2 separate regions of the Homo sapiens genome follow, and region 2 is linked to region 1. Evidence: promoter capture Hi-C in human tissues and cell types (Jung and others, 2019). All regions are on one chromosome and are shown on one strand. The core of a region is centred on a gene start or on the middle of the fragment in contact, and the rest is flanking DNA. Distances in the headings are between cores, read along the strand shown. Region 1 holds the start of CCDC81 (coiled-coil domain containing 81). Region 2 has its middle 55 kb from the start of CCDC81.

What was found. The method cuts DNA at HindIII sites, captures the fragments that hold promoters and counts their contacts. A contact is called where the count stands out against the background at its distance.
Region 2: a contact is called between a fragment that was not itself captured here and the fragment with the promoter of CCDC81 in region 1, in 1 of the 25 tissues and cell types used here (aorta).

The regions. Positions count from the first base shown.
Region 1 is chr11:86,373,524-86,377,509 of GRCh38, forward strand. It overlaps CCDC81 (coiled-coil domain containing 81), which reads left to right and starts at 1,364. Exons shown (of 15, transcript NM_001156474.2): 1 at 1,364-1,719. The coding sequence starts at 1,641. All of the region lies in intron 2 of LOC105369421 (a long non-coding RNA gene), which reads right to left. RefSeq lists a silencer at 1,104-1,398. The HindIII fragment of the contact is 17,191 bases long and covers 1-3,986 here.
Region 2 is chr11:86,428,079-86,432,270 of GRCh38, forward strand. It overlaps the pseudogene PTP4A1P6. Among named protein-coding and RNA genes, the nearest start is that of CCDC81, 55 kb to the left of the region's middle. The HindIII fragment of the contact is 3,825 bases long and covers 26-3,850 here.

The sequences.
Region 1 (3,986 bases), core at 114-2,613:
TAGTCAACACAGGGTTACATGTATCTACACAGCCTCTTTTGTCAAGAGACCTTTGACAAAAGGAAAGTAAAACCTTGGAAGAAAAGTCTTTGTCCTTATTCTTTTTACAGCTTCCTTTAGCCATCTACAATTCACTAATAATTAGCATCCACCACCATCTTCTGGAACTGAAGACAGCTTTTCTAGAGATTAAAAGTACCACTATATTTAATTCAAAATCTAATGTATTGTAAAACAATTATTTTTATAATTCCATTATCTTAATGTGGAACAATAATGCTGATATTGCCACTAAAAATTAGCTGGCATTATCTATTAAAATTGATCATATGCATTTCTCATGACCCATGAATCTACTCCTAGTTATATACACATCAGAAATGAGTACATCTATCTGTCAAAAGTGTTCTGTGAGACTGTTTGCAGCAGCCTTATTCCCAGTAGCCTCAAAGGGAAACAACGCAAATGCCCTTCAACAGTGGAATGCATAAATTGTGCCATACTCATAAAAAGGAATAATATGCAACAGTGTAAATGAAGAAATTATTACCATAGAAACTATGGATGAACCTCATAAACATAATGTGAATTTGAATAGAGCCAGACAGAAAAGGATACATACTATATGATTCCAAAGATTCAACAGGCAAAATGAATCTGCAGTATGTGTTGGCTAATGACTGGAGGGGTAATGAAGTGCTGATCTGTGCAATGTGCTAGCATTCTATTTTTTGACCTGGATGGGTTTTGCATAGGTATGTTCAGCTTGTGATAATTACCAGCAGAGGGGAGAGCATGCACGCAATTCTTCAGGATGAGATTGGTGACATGTAGAGAAAAGGGGGAAATGACTGTAGTTTAAAAAAAGTCAATTCCCTCCTCCCCACTTCTCCAGCTCTCCATTTCCTAGGAAGAGAGCCCAGGGAAAAGCAAACCAAGAAACAAATTCCAGCTCAAACTCAAACTCTCAAACAGATCTGGAGACTCAAATATCGATCTCTCTGGGCAAAAGGCATTCCTAGATTTGTCCAAGGTACAAAAACTACCACTCTAACCACGTTTCTTCGCTGCCCGGGGTCAGAGAAGTAAAAACCCATTATTTATTTATTTTTAAGTTACTTCCAACCTCGCTGCCTCGAGCTTCTGAATCGCCTGGGCAACCTGGAAGCCGCCCATCTAAGGGGGTGAGGTCGAATCCCAGCCTTGACGCCTTAGCAACCGAGCGAGCCTTTCTCGCGTCCCAGCAACGCGCCCTTCCCTCTGCCGGGCCTATTCTCCCTGGTGCCCCTCCCTTCCTCGAGGCTGCAGCTCACCCCTCATTGGGTCTCTCGTTGGTCAGGAGGGCGCGGGTCTGCACACTCTCACTCGGTGCCGGACATCAGTTCCTGCGGCTCTTGCTGTGGGAGCTGCCCGAGAGCCAGAGCAGTGGGGAGGGACGGCGAGAACCAATGTTTAAGTTTATTTAAGAAAGAAGAAAAAGAGTCAAGAAGTTCAAGATTTTCGTCACTCTTATTTTTAAGGCACATCCAAAGCTCCGTGGAGAAGGGGCTGGAGGGTGGGAAAATTATTTTTGTGCACATTCCATATAAGAAAGAAGAGACCCATCGAACATTCAGTACGGAGTCACCTGGAAATTGGAGATGTTGGATACGATCGCCCGTGCCCTGCAGGACCTGGGCAGGCAGGTGCTGCCCACTCTGCCCTCGCTGAGCCAGGAGGGTAAGCGTGTTGGGTAGCAGGGGGTGGCCCTGGGGATTGAATCTTCATCTGCTTGCAGGGGAGGCGGGGGGACCCACTTCCCAATTCCCTGGCTCAGGCCTGGCCTGCCGTGGCTAAGTTGCCTTGACAACCAGCTGGTAATCACATCCTGCCCACGTTGGACGCCCAGAGACCCTTTTCTGGTTTTGATTAAACCAGGGGATGCGTAGACAGCACAAAGTAAGTGCTCAATAAACGGACTAGCACAAAGTAAGTGCTCAATAAAGGTTAGGTAAAAACAGCCACTCCCACACCACTCGCTGGGATGGATCACAACCCTTTTGCCTACCTAGAGAAAAGAGATGCAGGGACCCTAAATGGCTCCTTTTGAGAGTTCATGCAAAGACGGTTGATTTTGTTGCCTTTGACATCATGCCGTTGTATTAAGAAAATGAGATGATCATAAAAAGCTACAGGGTAAGTACTTTGGAAGGGGACCTGGCACCTTCTCAGAGAAAACTCATTAGGCTTGGTTAGTAGCAAGACAAGATCTGTTTTTAGCATCGTTTGTAGAAGAGTCACCCCAAAGTGAGGCTGAGATCTGTCTGCAAACCACAGGAGAAGAGAGGTGCTGCAGGAATGCAAACTCATTATTATCAAACCATTGTAACTTAGAGATGTTGCTTAGGCTTTAACCAAATGACCGCAGAAAACAAATAGGAATGGCTGCTTCTTTCTCTTCCCCTGCATCACTCCTATCTTTTCCTCTCAAATCATCCTGAAAGATGCATTGAAGATAATGGCTTAATGAATTTAAAAACATTTGCTATATTTGTAAATTTATGTATAGTCATTCAAGGAATTCTGAAACCCTGCTATATGCTGAGCACTAGTTAACTTACGGTGAACAAACATCTTGGAATTTACTGTTTAGTGGGGAAGATGCACATTAATCAAATAATCACACAAATCAATGCAAATTTACAATTTAGGTAAATGATACCAGGGAGGAGGTAAATGGTACAGTAAGAACTTTTTTTAAAGATGATTTTTTAGGGTAGTTGTAGATTCACAGTAAATTAAGAAGGAGGGACAATATATTAGTTTATTTGTACACTGCTATGAAGATACTATCCCAGACTGGGTCATTATAAAGGAAAGAGGTTTAATTGACTCACAGTTCTTCATGGCTGGGGGAGCCCTCAGGAAACTTAAAATCATGGCAGAAGGGGAAGCAGGCATGTCTTACATGACGGCAGGAGAGAGAGAGAGAGAGAAGCCCGGGGGACCAGGGGAAACTGCCATTTATAAAACTCTCAGATCTTGTGAGAAATCCCTCACCATCATGAGAACAGCATGGGGGAAACTGCTCCCAGGATCCAATCCCCTCCCACCAGGCCTCTCCCTCAACACCTAGGGATTACAATTCAAGATGAGATTTGGGTGGGGAAACAAAGCCTAACCATATCAGACAGAGATGTCCCACATACTGTCTAATCCTACACTTGGATAGACTCTCCCATTGTCAACATCCCTCACCGGAGTGGTACATGTGTTACAATTGAACCTACATTGACACATCAAAATCACCCAAGTTTCATAGTTTACATTAGAGTTCTTTCTTGGTGTTGTACATTTTATGAGTTTGGACAAATGTAAAATGACATGTATCTATCATTATAGTCATATAGAGTATTTCACTCCCCTTTGTTCTGCCTATTCACCCCTACCCCTAATCCCAAAATCTGGAAACCACTGATCTTTCCACGGTCTTCATAGTTTTGCCAGTTCCAGAATGTAATATAGTTGGAATCATATAGTTTAAGCCTTTTCAGATTGGCTTCTTTCACTTAGCAATATGCATTTAATATTCCTCCATGTCTTTTTGTGGCTTGATAGCTCATTTCTTTTTAGTTCTGAATAATATTCCATTATCTAGATGTACCACAGGTTTTTTTTTTTTAATCTGTCCACCCACTGAAAAATGTCTTGGTTGCTTCCAAGTTTTGGCAATTATGAATAAAGCTGTTTTAAATATCTGTGTGCAGGTTTTAAAAAACTGGATATAAGTTTTCAATTCACTTGGGTAAATACCCAGGGACATAATCGCTAGATTGTATGGTAAGAGGATGTTTAGTTTTGTGAGAAACTGCCAGACTGTCTTCCAAAGGGGCTGTACTATGTTGCATTCCCAAGAGCGATGAATGAGAATTCTTGTCACTCCATGTTATTGTCAGCATTTGTTGTTGTCAGTATTTTAGATTTTGGTCATTCTAATAGATGGTGTA
Region 2 (4,192 bases), core at 688-3,187, 55 kb after region 1:
TTGGATTTGGTTTGCTAGTATTTTGTTGAGGATTTTTGCATCTATGCTCATCAAGGATATTGGCTTGTAGTTTTCATTTCTTGTGATGTGCTTGTGTGGCTTTGGTATTAGGGTAATACTGGTCCTGAAAAGAATTTGAAAGTATTCTCTCCCATTCGTTTTTTTGTTTGTTTGTTTTTTTCTGAGACAGTTTGTAGAGAACTGATATTAGTTCTTCTTTAAATGTTTGGTAGAATTCAGCAGTGAAGCCATCTGTTCCTGGGCTTTTCTTTGGTGAGATACTTTGTATTAATGATTCAATTTCCTCACTCATTATTGGTTTGCTCAGATTTTCTATTTCTTCATGATTCAGTCTTGGCAGGTTGTATGTGTGTAGGAATATATCCATTTCTTCTAGGTAATTCAAGTTTTTGGCATATAATTGTTCATAATAGTCTCTCATGATCCATTGTACTTCTGTGTTGTCAACTGTAATGATTTCTTTATTTCTGATTTTACTTGGGTCTTTTCTCTTTTTCTTTTCTTGGTTAGTCTAGCTAAAGGCTGTTTGATTTTATCTTTTCAAAATATGAACTTTTAGTTTCTTTTGTATTTTTTTTTAATCTCCAGAGCAGAAATAAAATAGAGATTAGATTATTTCTGGTCTGATCTTTATTATCTCTTTCCTTCAACTAACTTGGGCTTAGGGTTTTAAAGAAATTTCCTAGAGGTGTAACTTTTAGTTATTTGTAATTTTCTTTCTTGGTGCAGGCATTTATTGCTATAAACTTTCCTCTTAGAACTGCTTTTGCTGCATTCCATAAAGTTTGGTATGTTGTGTGTTCCTTTTTTTTTGTCTCAAGATACTTCTAGATTTCCCTTTTAATTTCTTCACTGGCACGCTGATTGTTCATGAGCATATTTAATTTCCATGTATTTGTGAATCTTCCAAAATTCCTCCTGTTAATGATTTCCAGTTTCATACCATTGTGAAACCTCTGGTTTAACAAGGTAAAAGCTAGAAAACCCCTGTATAACAAGGTAAAAACCTAATATTATTGTGCATTGGTTGTTAGAAGAACAAGGTAGATTCCTTCTGGTAAGTTTACCATGGCACAGAGAGGGAAAGCTTTTTGAGGAGATGAAGCCCAAGCTGAATTTTAATGACCAACGGGAAAAAGCCAGGTGAAGAGAAGAAGGGGTCATGACAACAGATGTCAAGGCTGTGTGCTCCAGTCTATCAAGACTGAGATGGAGGCATGGTTATATGAATTATATAGATATGAGGTCTAATATGTTTTCTATCATTCAACCATTTTAAGAATCAAACTTTATTATAGTCCTTCACTAAACAGCTGATTTCTGAGCAAGTCTTCATAATTTGGATCTTCTTCAATGATCCTCATTGTTAACTATTATTCTTGTATTAGTCTAACTCTGTAATTAGCCCCGACTTGCTATCATCAAGTTCTGTCTTTTCCAGAAATACAGCACAGCCAGACCAGATTAATGTATCAAAGGTTTCCCTATTTCAGTGGTTTTCAATGTTTTGGACAGTCATGGACTCTTCTAAGAATCTGATGAAAAATATATACTCTTCTTCTAAAAACAGGTATATATTCCTATACAACATTTTGCATGCAGTTAGAAGTTTCCTAGAACCCCTGGACCACAGGCCAAGAATCCCTGTTCTAGATAGCTTTCCTTCACCATTTTTACAGGCTTAGGCTATCAAAAGTAAAGGATTTAATTTGCTTTTGAAAATTCCCTTTCACTTTTCTTTTTTGTTTTTTTCCCTAAAATTCTGTTACTTTGCCTTCATTTTTACATAGTTTTTCTGAGTACACAATTCTATACTGACATTTTGTCTCAGTCCTCTGAAGATATTCTTATTCTCAGGTTTCTTCTCTAACAGCTGTTACAATTTTCTAAAATGTCTAGACTTTGCTTCCTGACCTTCACATGGCCCCTTGCAATAAAGCCCTATTTCTTCTTTCCTTCAAAGGGCTGAGAGAAAATGTCAGTGAAGAATTGTGTACCCAGCAAAACTTTTAACAATGAAGGGAAAATAAAAGAATTTTAGAAAAAAGCCAAAAAAGAAACCTGAAGAAAAAAACAAAATACAGTTTACTAATATTAAGGGAAATGGATTCAACAGTGAGAGATTTTCTAGCATATATAAAACATTTATCAACGTATCGATACCCAAAGGAATCTCCAAAAAAATGCTTCTGGATAAAAGAAAGTAACCTCAGAAAGAATGGAGCTCCAAGAAGGAATAGTGAGCAAAGAAACTGATAACATGAATAAATGTAAACAAACATTGATTTGTACAAACAATAATGTCCAATTTGTGGCGTTAAAAGATTAAGATGCTTGACGACATTAATAGTTAAAGCATGCTGAATTCCTTCAAGAGGCAGGAAAAGATTCTGAACCATGTTTGACTTTTTCTAAGTTAGTTAAGCACTAAAAGAACAGAAACAGGGTATATAATAGACCATCTGTATTAGAGAGGGAGACTCCACAGCCAAAATCGCGGGATTCAAATCTTAGCCCTTGCAAAATTACCTCTTGGGTACTATGCTCACTATCTGAGTGACAGAATTATCATTCATACTCTGGGTCACGCAATATACCCATGTAACAAATGTGCACGTGAACCCCCTAAATCTATAATAAAAGTTAAAATTATTTTTTAAAAAAGTCTCATCTCTGCCATTTACTAGCTGTGTGACCTTGGGCAAATTACCGTTCTGTGCTTAGGTTTTTAAAGTCAGGACAGTAGAAATGACACTAGTATCTAATTCATAGGGGTTTTGTATTACATTTATATAAAGCTTTGAACAGTGCTTACCCTAAAATAAGTGCTAAGGAAGTATTAGCCCCAATGAAAACTTCCAAAAGAGTAGAGGGAAAATCGTAATCCAAAAGAGGTCAAGAAAAGGTAAAAAATATAGAAATATGGGTCAAATAGCATAAAATAAGAGGGCAAAAATGCATACGTGCACTTTTTCAGCTAAAAAAGTCTGTCAGACTGGACTGATGCGGAAAAAAAGCTCCATATATTATGTTGTTCCCAAGAGACATACTTAAACATGAAGCAGGTAGAAAAAGATACACTAGTCAGAGTCAATGGCTGGGAAACCTTTCGCTACCTTACCTGTCTTCCTTCAGTTTCTCTCCAGCCTCTTCCAGGCTTCCTATCCCACCACCCCCACGTCGCTCCTCAGCCCCTCTCCTCTCTAGTGGGAGACAAGGAAACTCAGCATTCATCCAGCGTTCCTTCGCCTCAGCAAGGGGCTCCCGTCGGCGGCGGCCGTGATGACGTCCTCATTGGTCCGCCCAACCACGATTGGTGAAGGGGTTCCTGCGTCGCGCGCAGTCTAGGAAAGAGACGACTTGGGACGCAACGACACCTGCGCGTGTGCGTATTGCCTCAGTGGAGGCGCTCCGCTGGTCCTCCTAGAGTTTGGTGCCCTGCCGCCGCTGCCCCGCCACGACTGCGGCTGCGGCTGCTCCGGGCAGTGCTGCGGCCGCCGCGGGCCCAGCTGTATGGTTAGGCCACCATCGTTCGTGAGTAAACATATTCCTTTCTGTGGTGTTCTTGATAATGCATTTATAGAGTTTCTAAAGGGCCCTGGAGATTACTGCCAGGTTCAGCACGAACTTTATGAGGACAAGTGAATGGTGGAAAGTCATTACTGCCCCACCAAGAAGCCCCCACAGAGCGGGTCACCTGGACACAGAAGTGTAGAATTGAGATCATTAGAGCATTTTACAAGAGTTCTGACCTAGATGGGGTAACCCTTGGTGCACTTCCTTTCCATTGGCCCAGAATTACTGAATTGAAGAACCGCAGCTTCTTGTTGGTAGGTTCATTTCATTTCCTGTCACTACCAACTTCATATTCAAAGCTCTGTGAATTTCAAGTGGAGTATATTGGCGTAGACTTCAGTTTCTTGACATCATTTCTGTATTCAAAAATTTTTAATTTTTTTCGTAACCATATCAGTTTTTTTTTTTTTTAACTAAATTAACATGGCTCCAATGAATCACCCAGCTCCAGTGGAAGTCACATACGGGAACATGAGATTTCTTATTATACACAACCCAACCAATTCGACCTTAAACAGATTTTTAGAAGAACTTAAGAAATACGGGGTTACCACAATAGTAAGAGTATGTGAAGCAACTGATGACCCTGCTCTTG